Regions from separate parts of the Homo sapiens genome. Here region 2 is linked to region 1. Evidence: promoter capture Hi-C in 16 types of primary human blood cells and fetal thymus (Javierre and others, 2016). All regions are on one chromosome and are shown on one strand. The core of a region is centred on a gene start or on the middle of the fragment in contact, and the rest is flanking DNA. Distances in the headings are between cores, read along the strand shown. Region 1 holds the start of KIF21A (kinesin family member 21A). Region 2 overlaps REDIC1 (regulator of DNA class I crossover intermediates 1).

Region 1 (5,516 bases), core at 1,216-3,715:
GCTGAGGATGGCCACCACCTTTGGAAGGGGCCTGTGTCTCTATTTTATGATAGTCCTCACCTTTATCATAGTATTCATCTTGCTCTGCTCTTTTGAGCTACCTGCCTGGCTCCTGTAGGCATTTGTGTTTGTGACTCCCCTTACTGAGACATATATGTATACTATTGTTATTTAAAATGAGAACTTTTTTTGGCCAGGTGAGGTAGCTCATGCCTGTAATCCCAGCACTTTGGGAGGCTGAGGTGGGCGGATCACTTGAGGTCAGGAGTTTGAGACCAGCCTGGTAAACATGGTGAAATCCCATCTCTACTAAAAATACAAAAATTACCTGGATGTGTTGGCACATGCCTGAAATCCCAGCTACTCCGGAGGCTGAGGCACGAGAATCCCTTGAACCCCGGAGGAGGATGTCGATGTCGCAGTGAGCTGAGATCACACCATTGCATTCCAGCCTGGATGACAGAGCGAGACACTGTCTCAAAAAATAAAATAGGCTGGGTGTGGTGGCTCATGCCTGTAATCCCAGCACTTTGGGAGGCCGAGGCGGGTGGATCACAAGGTCAGGAGTTCAAGACCAGCCTGGCCAATACGGTGAAACTCTGTCTCTACTAAAAATACAAAAATTAGCTGGGCATGGTGGCACACGCCTGTAGTCCCAGCTACTCAGGAGGCTGAGGCAGAAGAATCGCTTGAACCCGGGAGGCAGAGGTTACAGTGAGCCGAGATCACGCCACTGCACTCCAGCCTGGTGACAGAGCAAGACTTTGTCTCAAAATAAAATAAAATAAAAAAGAACTTTTTTTAAAAAGAGGGTCTTAATTATACAAATTTCTCTTTAGTTTTCTTGTTAAATGTGCTGGGCCATTCTTGCTTTCCTTGCAGCTTTCATCAACAAAAGAAGCAAGGTGGCCAGCCCAGATCCACCCAGATATGGGCTTGCCAGGGCAGGGTGAAATGCAGCTCTGATTTGTTGATGGATAAATTTTGAGGCTAGGAAAGGCCCTCCAAAGAGTAGCCAGAGGAGAGCTTTCCCACCAATTTGATCTATAGAAGGATACTCAGCATCTCTGCCCTCTTTACCTCCCAGTTACATGTCTGTTAAGATTTAGGGGTAGTGAGATTAAGGGACAGAATAAATTTAAAACTATCTATAATTATATACCCCATCGGCCTTCCCATGGGTTTAAATCATCAAACACTTCTTGTTTTTCCCATAGTGTTGCAGCCTTCTCTGAGCCACACTGCTGTATCACTGCTGAACAAGATGATTAGGTATGTGATTGTAGATTGCAGGCATTTGAGGTAGTGCCTTTATTTGGATAGTGCCATTTAATTTGTGATACTATTTCGTATGAAGCCACATGTTTGTTTATAGAGATGTATGGAGCAGTCCACAAAAGATACTCTGTGGCAAAGCTAATAAAGGCTGTTTCCACAGAGCTATCTGAAGGCATGTGGAAGCACAATAGTGACAAACAGAAACCACAATGGGTCAATGTTGAGAGAATCCTGGGATTGGGAGGTGCTTTTTAAAGGCCAGAAGGGAAAGAAAATCAGTTTGGAAGGATTTACTACACAGCAGGTCTTGGTGGATATATTCAGTTCTGGGAACACTTGGCAGTACCAGGGTGCAGTTCATTTACCAGTGTACAAATGATTGAACAGAAAAGCATTCAGGAGTCTCGAATAAATCATTTCCATATCCCACCCGAGCTGGTAAACGGGCGATGAACTGTAGAACAGCCCAGCTGTCCAGAGACAGTGGACAAACCTGGGAGTCCGTTTAGCATGAATGACTGACTCCGGGGAGGGAGGAGGGAGGGCGTTCAGCTGGGGGCTAGGGAAGGGGGTCAAAGTCCAAGCTGCAGAGAGGACAATAAGGCTATGCGTGGGACACAAAGCCGAACCGCAGCAGCAGCTGCCTGGCTCCCGGCGCGCCGCTGAATCAAGCTTCGATTTGAGAAGGGACCTGGCAGCAGCGCGTGCACTAGCTGCTTCCTTCTCCCAGAAGAGCCTGGAAGGGCGCACAGGCTGGTCGCCCTCGGGCGAGGGCAGCCGGCGGCAGGCATCCCTCCCCCTCGCCTCCCTGCCCAGCAGCGCCAGGCAGTGTCCCGACGAGGGCAGGGCGGGGCGCAGGCTGGGGGAGGGCGAGGTGGGGCTGAGCCGCGCGGCGGCGGCTGACGCAGTGCGGGGCGAGGAGCCCGGAGCGCCCTGGCGGGCGTGGAGTCCCCAGCCTGGCCGCTGGGAGGCCGCGTCCCCACCGGAGGGGGCAGGGCGCACTCACCCGGCCGCCCTGAGGCCGCTGGCGGCCTGTTGGCTTCTCCACAGGCGCGCTCGCCGTTCAAGCGCGCTTTGTCCCCGCCCCAGATCCTGGGGGGTGAGCGGTGGAGAAGGGGCGGGCGCCCGCGAGCCGTGAATCACCTCCTCCTCTTGCTGCCTCAGCGCCGCCGCCACCTTTCCATTCAGTCGCCCAACATGGCTGGAGCGCGGCGGAGGTGAGCCGGCCGCCCGCCCGCAGACGCCCCAGCCTACTGCGCCCGAGTCCCGCGGCCCCAGTGGCGCCTCAGCTCTGCGGTGCCGAGGCCCAACGGCTCGATCGCTGCCCGCCGCCAGCATGTTGGGCGCCCCGGACGAGAGCTCCGTGCGGGTGGCTGTCAGGTGAGGACAGTCTGCCGGCGGCGGGCGGCGGGCGGCGGGTTGAGGGCGCGGCAAGGACCTGGCTGTGGCGCGGAGCACCGGCTACCGGGGTGGAGCGACCTGAGGGGCGTCCCGGCCGGGTTCTGCGGCTGAGGAAACTGAGGCAGTGAGTCCCCGCTGGCCTGGCACGCGCGGCCGGGTGCTGGCAGGGCGACTGCGCCGCCCTCACGCCGTCTGTGTTTGCAGGTGGCTGGCGGCTGCGCGGCGCCGGGTCCCTGGGGGGCGTCTTGACTTCTCTGGGGGAAAAGCCCTCGTCACTCCCCTCCGTCCCCTCGCGGGATCAGTCACCTCAGGTCTGGCCGCCTTGGGCTATCGCCTGTCCGGGAGGAGCTGCCTGTGCGCGGGGCTGTGGTGTTCTTTTTTATTAGTTCTAGAATGTCTGTCATACGTGTCCATGCAGCTCCGGCCTTCCCAGGCAGGAGACAAAGCATCTGACTATCAGCGCCGGCGACCGCAGGGCCCGCCGCGCGCCCACTCGGGTTCTGATGTCTGTGCAAATGAGACATCTTTTTCAGCATCACGGGGATCTAGACATGCCCCCGCGTGTGGGTAGAGGAGACAGATCTAGCCTCTTGGGTGTTGGAATGGGAGTGGAATTTAAGGTAAAATCCACTGGGGAGAGGTCTACAGAAGGAGGAAAACTCTTTAGCCAGAGGAAGGGTGAAATGGGTGACTGTGTGAAACATACTGACATTAGGCAGGGTGGATACAATGTAATCGTAACGTTACCCAGGCCAGGGTGTGAGTCTGGAAATACTAGGTACATCCTAGTATTGAAATTATATTTCGGCCAATGACAGGCACGAGTATTCGATGTAATTTCGGCTGTTTTGATACTTATCAAGAAGGAAAGCTCTGATAGTTGCTCATGGAAAATTGCAACATCATCACACTGTGTGAAAAATTAATGAAGCATTCATCCTAGAGTAAGTGCGTGGCTTTCACAGCTCTGAGAGTCTACTGTTAATTCACTTCTCCTTATTTATGCTTTAAGGATTATAAAAATAATCTACACTCCAAGGAATTAGGAACTATTAACAATCTCCCAGTCTTGTAGTCTTTCCAGAAAATTATTCTAAAAATTCTCCCCTCTAAACATTTCTATAGTTACTATTTTAGTGACACATCTTGGGTCAGGCATAGTAATGGCTGTTTCGTATACTTTGTATCTTTAATTAACTTAAATAATAAAATGAGTTTTTAAGTGTTTTTTTTTTTTTTTTTTTTACCACCCAGGGAGGTGACAGTTTTATGACTGGTTAGAATCACCTGTTATAAGGCTTTTGAAGTTTTAATTAGGCCTTCTTCGTTATTCTAGGGCTACTTATCCAATTGTTAGATTAGTCTGTTTCTCCTATTCACTGCTACTACCTCTCTTTTGGCCCTTTAATACCAGTTAATGACTGCACCAGGGTGGAGAAAGGGGAAGGAAAAAGACAGAAAACCCAATAAGAGGCAATTTTGTTAGGAGATCTGATCAAGGAAAGTGAAGAAGGTGCATAAAATATTACTGAAAACAGACAATTTGTCTGTTTTTAGACGTTTGAGATTTTTATATGTGAATTCTCTAGACTATCACAAGGCAGTTTGTTGACCATTCTGTTAAATCCGATGCTTCTTTGCCTGTAGAGCCATGGATGACCCTAAAGTGATGCTGACTGATAAATAACTTGTATTTTGTTTTGGTGTGTATGTTAGGACTTTTTAGGTGAATGAATGTGGGTTTGATTTTTGGGGAAAGGCTTTATAAAAACTTCAACATAACTTAGTAAGCCATATTGTAAAGATTCAATTTGTTGAATTCAGGATTCCTTCCTTCCTTCCTTCTTTCCTTTCTCTTTCTCTCTTCTTTCCTTTCTTCTTTCTTTTTTTTGAGATAGGGTTTTGCTGTGTCACCCAGGCTAGAGTGTCGTGGTGCCATCATAGCTCACTGCAGCCTCAACCTCATGGGCTCAAGCAATCCTCTAATCTCAGCCTGCTGAGTAGCTGAGATCACAGGCATGTGCCACACTGCTTGGCTAATTTTTATACATTTTTGTAGATATGGGGCCTCCCTATGTTTCCCAGAGTGGTCTTGTACTCCTGGGCTCAAGCCGTCCCTCCCAAATTGCTGGGATTACAGGCATTAGCCACTGCGCCTGGATAAATCGGGGATTTCTTTCATTAAATACATTGTTCTCTGAACAGAGCTACCTTGTAAACTTACTTTATATAGGATAAAAATAGCTTATACTCATATAGCACTTTAGTATTTATAAAGTGTTTGGACTTATATTGTTCATTTATAACCATTATTTATTGAAGATATATACCCGTCTCTGTTATCCTGATTTCTGGGCTAAAAGTAGTGATAATTGTTTGACTTATACTGTGTGCCGGGATTAGTGCTGTGTTAAGATGTTTTATCTCATGTAAAGTCTTATTTATTCCTCATAACAATCTGTGACTTAGGTCCTGTTATTATGGCCATTTACAGATGAGGCACAGAAAGATTAAGTAAACCATCCAAAGTTAAATTGGTAACAAATGAGAGAGCCAGGGTTCCAACCCAGATAGCTTGACTCAGTAGCCCAAGTTCTTAACCATTAACCCTGCGGAAGTGAGAGGCAAGAACATGGCTTTGCAAAGTTTCACTTAGCTTTGGGTCAGTTGCCTGTTCTTGATTTTGTATTAGTTCATTTACAAATGAGTGGCTTTCACAGGTTATTCATATTTTGATATTGCTAGAAAAGATAGAACTAAGACAGGACCTGAACTTACTAAAATATTTCCTCAAATTATTTAATCTTTCCAGCTTCCTGTTACCCTACCCTTCAGTT
Region 2 (5,433 bases), core at 1,284-3,783, 200 kb before region 1:
TTCAAAGGAAAAAAATGATAGCTAACAATATGACATTAGATGTTAAAGTTTCAAGCTTTAATTATAATCTATGCATTTTCTAATTGATTAAAATTTTATTTGCTAAGAAAATTATTTGCTATACTTTGAAAGAGAAATCATCTTGGGATCCACGTGAGGGTTGGACATCACAATTTGATATAAAGTAATCTGGTTACTATGTTTGAACAGATGAATTGCTCAATAATCACGTGAACCCAAAGTAAGAATCCCTAAGTGAACTGTCCTTGGCAGCTCATCAGTAACAAGCAGAATCAAATGTTATGCAAACATAGGCCTAGTCACATTACCAGCAGTCCAAAGAGATTCTCATAAGCAATCAATTAAAATATTCTTAAGGCATAGATTTCTCACCTGGAAAGCTTTTAAAAGAATTAAAGACTCAAAATTTTCTTTAAAATAATTTTCTCCAGTATTCAGACATTTAGATCATTAGGTAGCATATCACAATTGCTGAAATAACCTATAGAATTTTTTTAAAAATCTCACCTGGACTGGGCCAAGATCTTCCTTGCTACTTAGTCTTTGACAGTTTACACTAATGAAAAGAAAAATTTAGGTTAAAAATATAAATTGAAATAAAATCGACTGTCCTTTCCTATATTTAAAATTCATACTGTTCTACACAAAACATATAGAAACCTAAGTAAATCACTACAGGGTCATAATATTACTAAGTTTTATAAAAATTATATTAATACTAGATACAGACATTTTTATGATAAGGTAAGTCAAACAAAGTGTACAAAATCTGGATCATTTGATGAAGGTCTTAATCATTGCATAATACTGTTAACAGCCAAACAAACAAAAACTGGGGGTAGAAGGTAAGTATTTTATACATTTTCGAGTGAGTAAAAGTGTTGTTAATAACCAGTTTAAACACCTAATAATATAAATCCTAGCTAAAACCTACTTGGTTTCTGTATCATCAAGGCAGAGTTTAGAAGGTACACAGTGAGGCGACATTGTAAGTTCTAAATTATGCTTTCTTAGGGGCATTTTTATGTCTCTATTCATGTTCACATGGGTTGGTTTTCTCACAGTTTCTATAATAAAAAATATATAATTATAATTTTAAAATAAGAATAAAAAATTGTAAAAGTACTGTTTAATAAATCATGTTCATTACATAAACATATATCTAAGAAATTTTACTAAAACATTTACATTCTATCAGTGCTAAAATAAATCATTACAATATAAACAACTATCAGAGACTTTAAAACATATTCATCATCTTATATATTCCTCATTATAGCTGCCCTATTAATTTAGTTCTACTTTTTCTTCCACCAAGATTTCTATGATCTCCAGACTAGATTAGTTACTATGTTATATATTCCCACAGTACTATATATATTTTCCCTTTCTCTGGTCAGTACTTTCACCTACTCTATTTTTGTGATACACCCACCCAAACTATATACATAGTTATAGTGTAGATTTTATATCTTCTTATAAAACTCTGCCTCAAGCCAGGCATAGTGGCTCATGCCTGTAATCCCAGTTACTAAGGAGGCTGCAGTTGGAGGATGGCTTGAGGCCAAGAGTTCAAGACCAGCTTGGGCAACACAGTGAAACCCTGTCTTTAAAAACAAAACAAAATAAAAGTCTTGTCTCTCTGGATAAAATAATTGATTTGGCAGTAGCCATCTGACTAAAGGTGAACCAATAATCGTATCCCATTCTGCTAGTTATAAGCAAAATTTTTTCACTGTGAGATTGGTACCAGTAGCACAAGGAAATATTCTTACAGTGGAATTTTAAAATGTGGGACCAGAGAAACAACTCTCAGTATTTCCTTGGTGGCAAAACTAGAGAAGGTGAGTAATATTAGTTTCTTAAGGCCATGTTTTGAGCCTCAATGATGAAGACAGTCTGAGAGAATAAAGTTAATGACTGAAGTGAAAAAGAATCTTGATAGTATTCAAGTCCCTGTTTCAAGTCATCTCTGAGGCCCACTGCACCATCACTCTTCCTGTTAAAGGAGTAAAAAGATAACTGTTTTGAATTTCTGTCATTTGCAGCCATGAGTCCTGATTAGTAAAGCTTGCTTTCTGTTTTATCCTCAGCACCCAGTAGAGTACTTACAGTGGGTACCCAATAAAAATATGCTGAAGAAATAAATGAAAAGAAAGTGCAGGAGTTCAGGCCATTATCCCAAAATAAGTCATCTTGCTATTTAAGAAAACAGCAGAAGCAGGAAGGTTACTCTCAGCTTTCCCCTGAAGCAGGTCATAAAACCCTCATTCGAGAAGTGCTCTGGTTATACTTGGAAGAAAATAATATCCCTATCTCTGAAGACGCAGGGTCACAAAGAAGAATCTGAACAAAGAGGCCTTGCTAAGATCCCCTTAGTTTATTACTATTAGATCATTCTTTTAAAAATCCAATCATACTTCTTGAGGACCATCCACTTTTTCATCAAACCTGGCAAGAAAAATACACAAGTTTAGCCATTTCTTCCAATCTTAAGATCTTAAATTTCTTATCAAGGCTCTTGTGTCACATAAAACTTACTAAATAAATCTGTATGTTTTTCTCCTGTTAATCTGTCTTTTGTTATTGAGGGTTTAGCCATAAACCTAGCAATGGATGAGGAAATATATTTTTATTCCCCTACGACTGGGAATAAAGGTAAATACATCAAAAAGATTTACAACAATAAGTTTTATTCTCAAAATCCATGAACAATGTATTTATTCTTTCTAAAGTATAACTAAATTTACTTGTGTAAACTGTTATCTGTGGAGGGAGAAAAAAAATGACGGAGAAAGGAAATGAGGAAATATTAACAATACTCTGATCAATTTCTATCCCTTCCTGATAAATTGTCTTATTTTTATGCTCTCATTTTTAGCAGTTGTTTTAAAAATTAAATATCAGACACAAGTTCCTCTAAAAGAGGAAAAATATACTCTAATTAAGCTTTTTATTTACTTGAAGTATCAAAATATATGACAAAATGGACTTTATTTTGCAGTATTAGACTTCTATGATTAACATCCCAGGAAAGTGTAATAAATAATTCAAGTGATGACATAGGAAACTAGTCATTGAAGCAAAAATCTTTGCAGATCTTCCTTTCAGACATACCCTTTAAATAGTAAAGAATAGTTAATTTGTTGATATGTATTAACATTTATTCCCTGCTCTCTAGCTAAACTTTGGTAACTACCTGCCTGTATAGAATAATGTAACAACTGTACTATAATAAGTTTAGTGACACCTAATAAATTAATTTTATATAACACATACACAAAATAAAAATAAAAATTGGATTAAGCAACAAAACGTTTTAAGCAGATATTAACTAGGCATCTAATTTAAGAGAGCAACCAAATTTTAAAATTAATTTTCCACATGCTTTGAGCTCAAAAATTACAAACTAATTAGAAGACTAAACATTATTATGATCACATCAAGTTCAAAACAGAATGCAATTGGAATGACTTACCAGGAATTTTCTTCTTGCAAGATATCTGATTTACCATATATAGGTTAAGAATGTCTAAGCTGACAGCAGAATTTTTGACAGGAGATAAAACTCCCAGTGATTTCATTTTTGATTTTAACCTGTGTTTTTCAAAATATTCCTAAAATAATTAAAAATTAAAAACAATGCAGCAAATATGCGGTTTTAGACAGAATTATAAATAATAAAAAAGCAATCATGTTATTAAGTCATTGACTTGATACTTTTATATTTTGTGACATCTTTATATGTTTATAAATACATTACAATTAATCATAACTTGCAGTTTGCCTAAAGACTAAATTTCACAGCCTTTTATCATCTTCCTTAAGCATAACCTTTAAAACAGAATGCTATAAAGCTATTCTCTGAAATCAAAAGATTAGAAATTATCTCTATATAGAAAGTTAAAAAAATCTGGTAACAGAACAATTCTGACAGGCTAAAATCTTGTTCTTGTTTTTCTACAAAGTATGCTATTCTGCAGACATAGAAAACCTTAAAAATATGCACAGCTGAGTGCCATTAAAAGTCAACAGAAATGAAGAAAAAAAAAGCTATGTGCAAATTAATCTGCAACCAAAGCCAATTTCGTTTATTTGTTATCCCTCCATGATTCCCAGATGTTTGTTTTTTTAACAAGACTTGCACATAATTATCACTTTATCCAGTTTTTATTTTCTTTCTGTTTGAACTGTTATTATTCTTTCTTATTGCCATTCTTTTTCTTTCAGGTTACATCATTAATTCATTTAAATAAAAATTAACTAATATTTATTTATCAAGCAACTATTATGTGCTAGGTTGTGAAAACATCTTCTCTTCCATTAAATAACTCATAATATAATGCTATGAATGTAAATATAAATGCGAAATTGTCAGAAATGAGAAAAAGCCAAGATGGCAAAATATTTAGTGCAAGAGGTCATAATTTGAAGAGGTTACATATCATATTTATTTTCAAGAAGTTGAGGCTCTTTCACATTAACATTTCAGAATATTGTTAATTATAACTTTTAAGTTTGTAAAAATCTTGTAAGAACTATAACAGACTTGCCAATGATCACACACAAAAAAGTAAATGTCTTGTTTTACAAAATAAATAACAGATAAAAGGTATTTGTTCATATTTCATTTGAGTGATCTGGAACTCCAAATTAGACTAAAATGTATTTTTAAAGACCATACTATGGTTAAGCAATGAAATAACAGGATCTTCAGGATGTAAATAGTTTTCCACCTTGAAACAACAACTCAGTCAATGCTAGATCTTATAATTGATTGTGTCCTGGAATTAAGAAGTTGTTAGTTCATCTGTACAAAGTACAAAGGCACTGTACTTTGTGATGGATAAGACCATAGTGAGGGAGATGATGACACAAATAAATGCAACTGAGTGTGATTGGGGATGGTATCAAATCCTAGGAAAGGTATGGAAATTATTGTTTGGGGATAGGGTGGGTACAGGGAAGGGAGGAGGACATGGAAGACTTCTTTGGAAATGAGTTCTAAGATAGATGGATGAGTCAGAGCTATCCAAAGAGGGTAGGAATATAAGGTTCCAGGAATAAGGAAGAACAATACAAAGACTGTCAAAGGGACTAAGCCTTTATTCCAGGAAACATGTTGAAGAAGTTTGTCCCATATTATCCAGCCATCATAATAGCCTCTAATATCTGTTCCAAGAAAGAACAGAAGTATGTAACTAACTGATTAACTTGACAAGACTAAGCTCAATTTTTTTGTCAAGTCTCACTTGGTAAAAACAACTAGAAAACAATTTGAAAAGAACTAGAAAACTTTCAGAAACTAAGTAATCAAATTTTAACTTGAAAACAGTCATTAAAAAGGAACAACCAGAGAGATAGAAATAAAATCTGGAGAATGTACCAAAGAAAGATCAGAAAGAATTTGCT

The links. Contacts are between HindIII fragments. The CHiCAGO score rates a contact against its expected background, and 5 or more counts as called.
Region 2: a fragment that was not itself captured here is called in contact with the fragment with the promoter of KIF21A in region 1 in 1 of 17 cell types (non-activated CD4 T cells); the score reaches 5.1 in non-activated CD4 T cells.

Annotation. Positions count from the first base shown.
Region 1 is chr12:39,440,069-39,445,584 of GRCh38, reverse strand. It overlaps KIF21A (kinesin family member 21A), which reads left to right and starts at 2,465. Exons shown (of 38, transcript NM_001173464.2): 1 at 2,465-2,658. The coding sequence starts at 2,615. RefSeq lists enhancers at 1,795-1,854, 2,136-2,636, 3,455-3,524 and a silencer at 1,935-2,834. The HindIII fragment of the contact is 8,179 bases long and covers 1,953-5,516 here.
Region 2 is chr12:39,641,984-39,647,416 of GRCh38, reverse strand. It overlaps REDIC1 (regulator of DNA class I crossover intermediates 1), which reads right to left. Exons shown (of 13, transcript NM_001031748.4): 3 at 3,500-3,638; 4 at 956-1,088; 5 at 529-577. Among named protein-coding and RNA genes, the nearest start is that of REDIC1, 19 kb to the right of the region's middle. The HindIII fragment of the contact is 879 bases long and covers 2,094-2,972 here.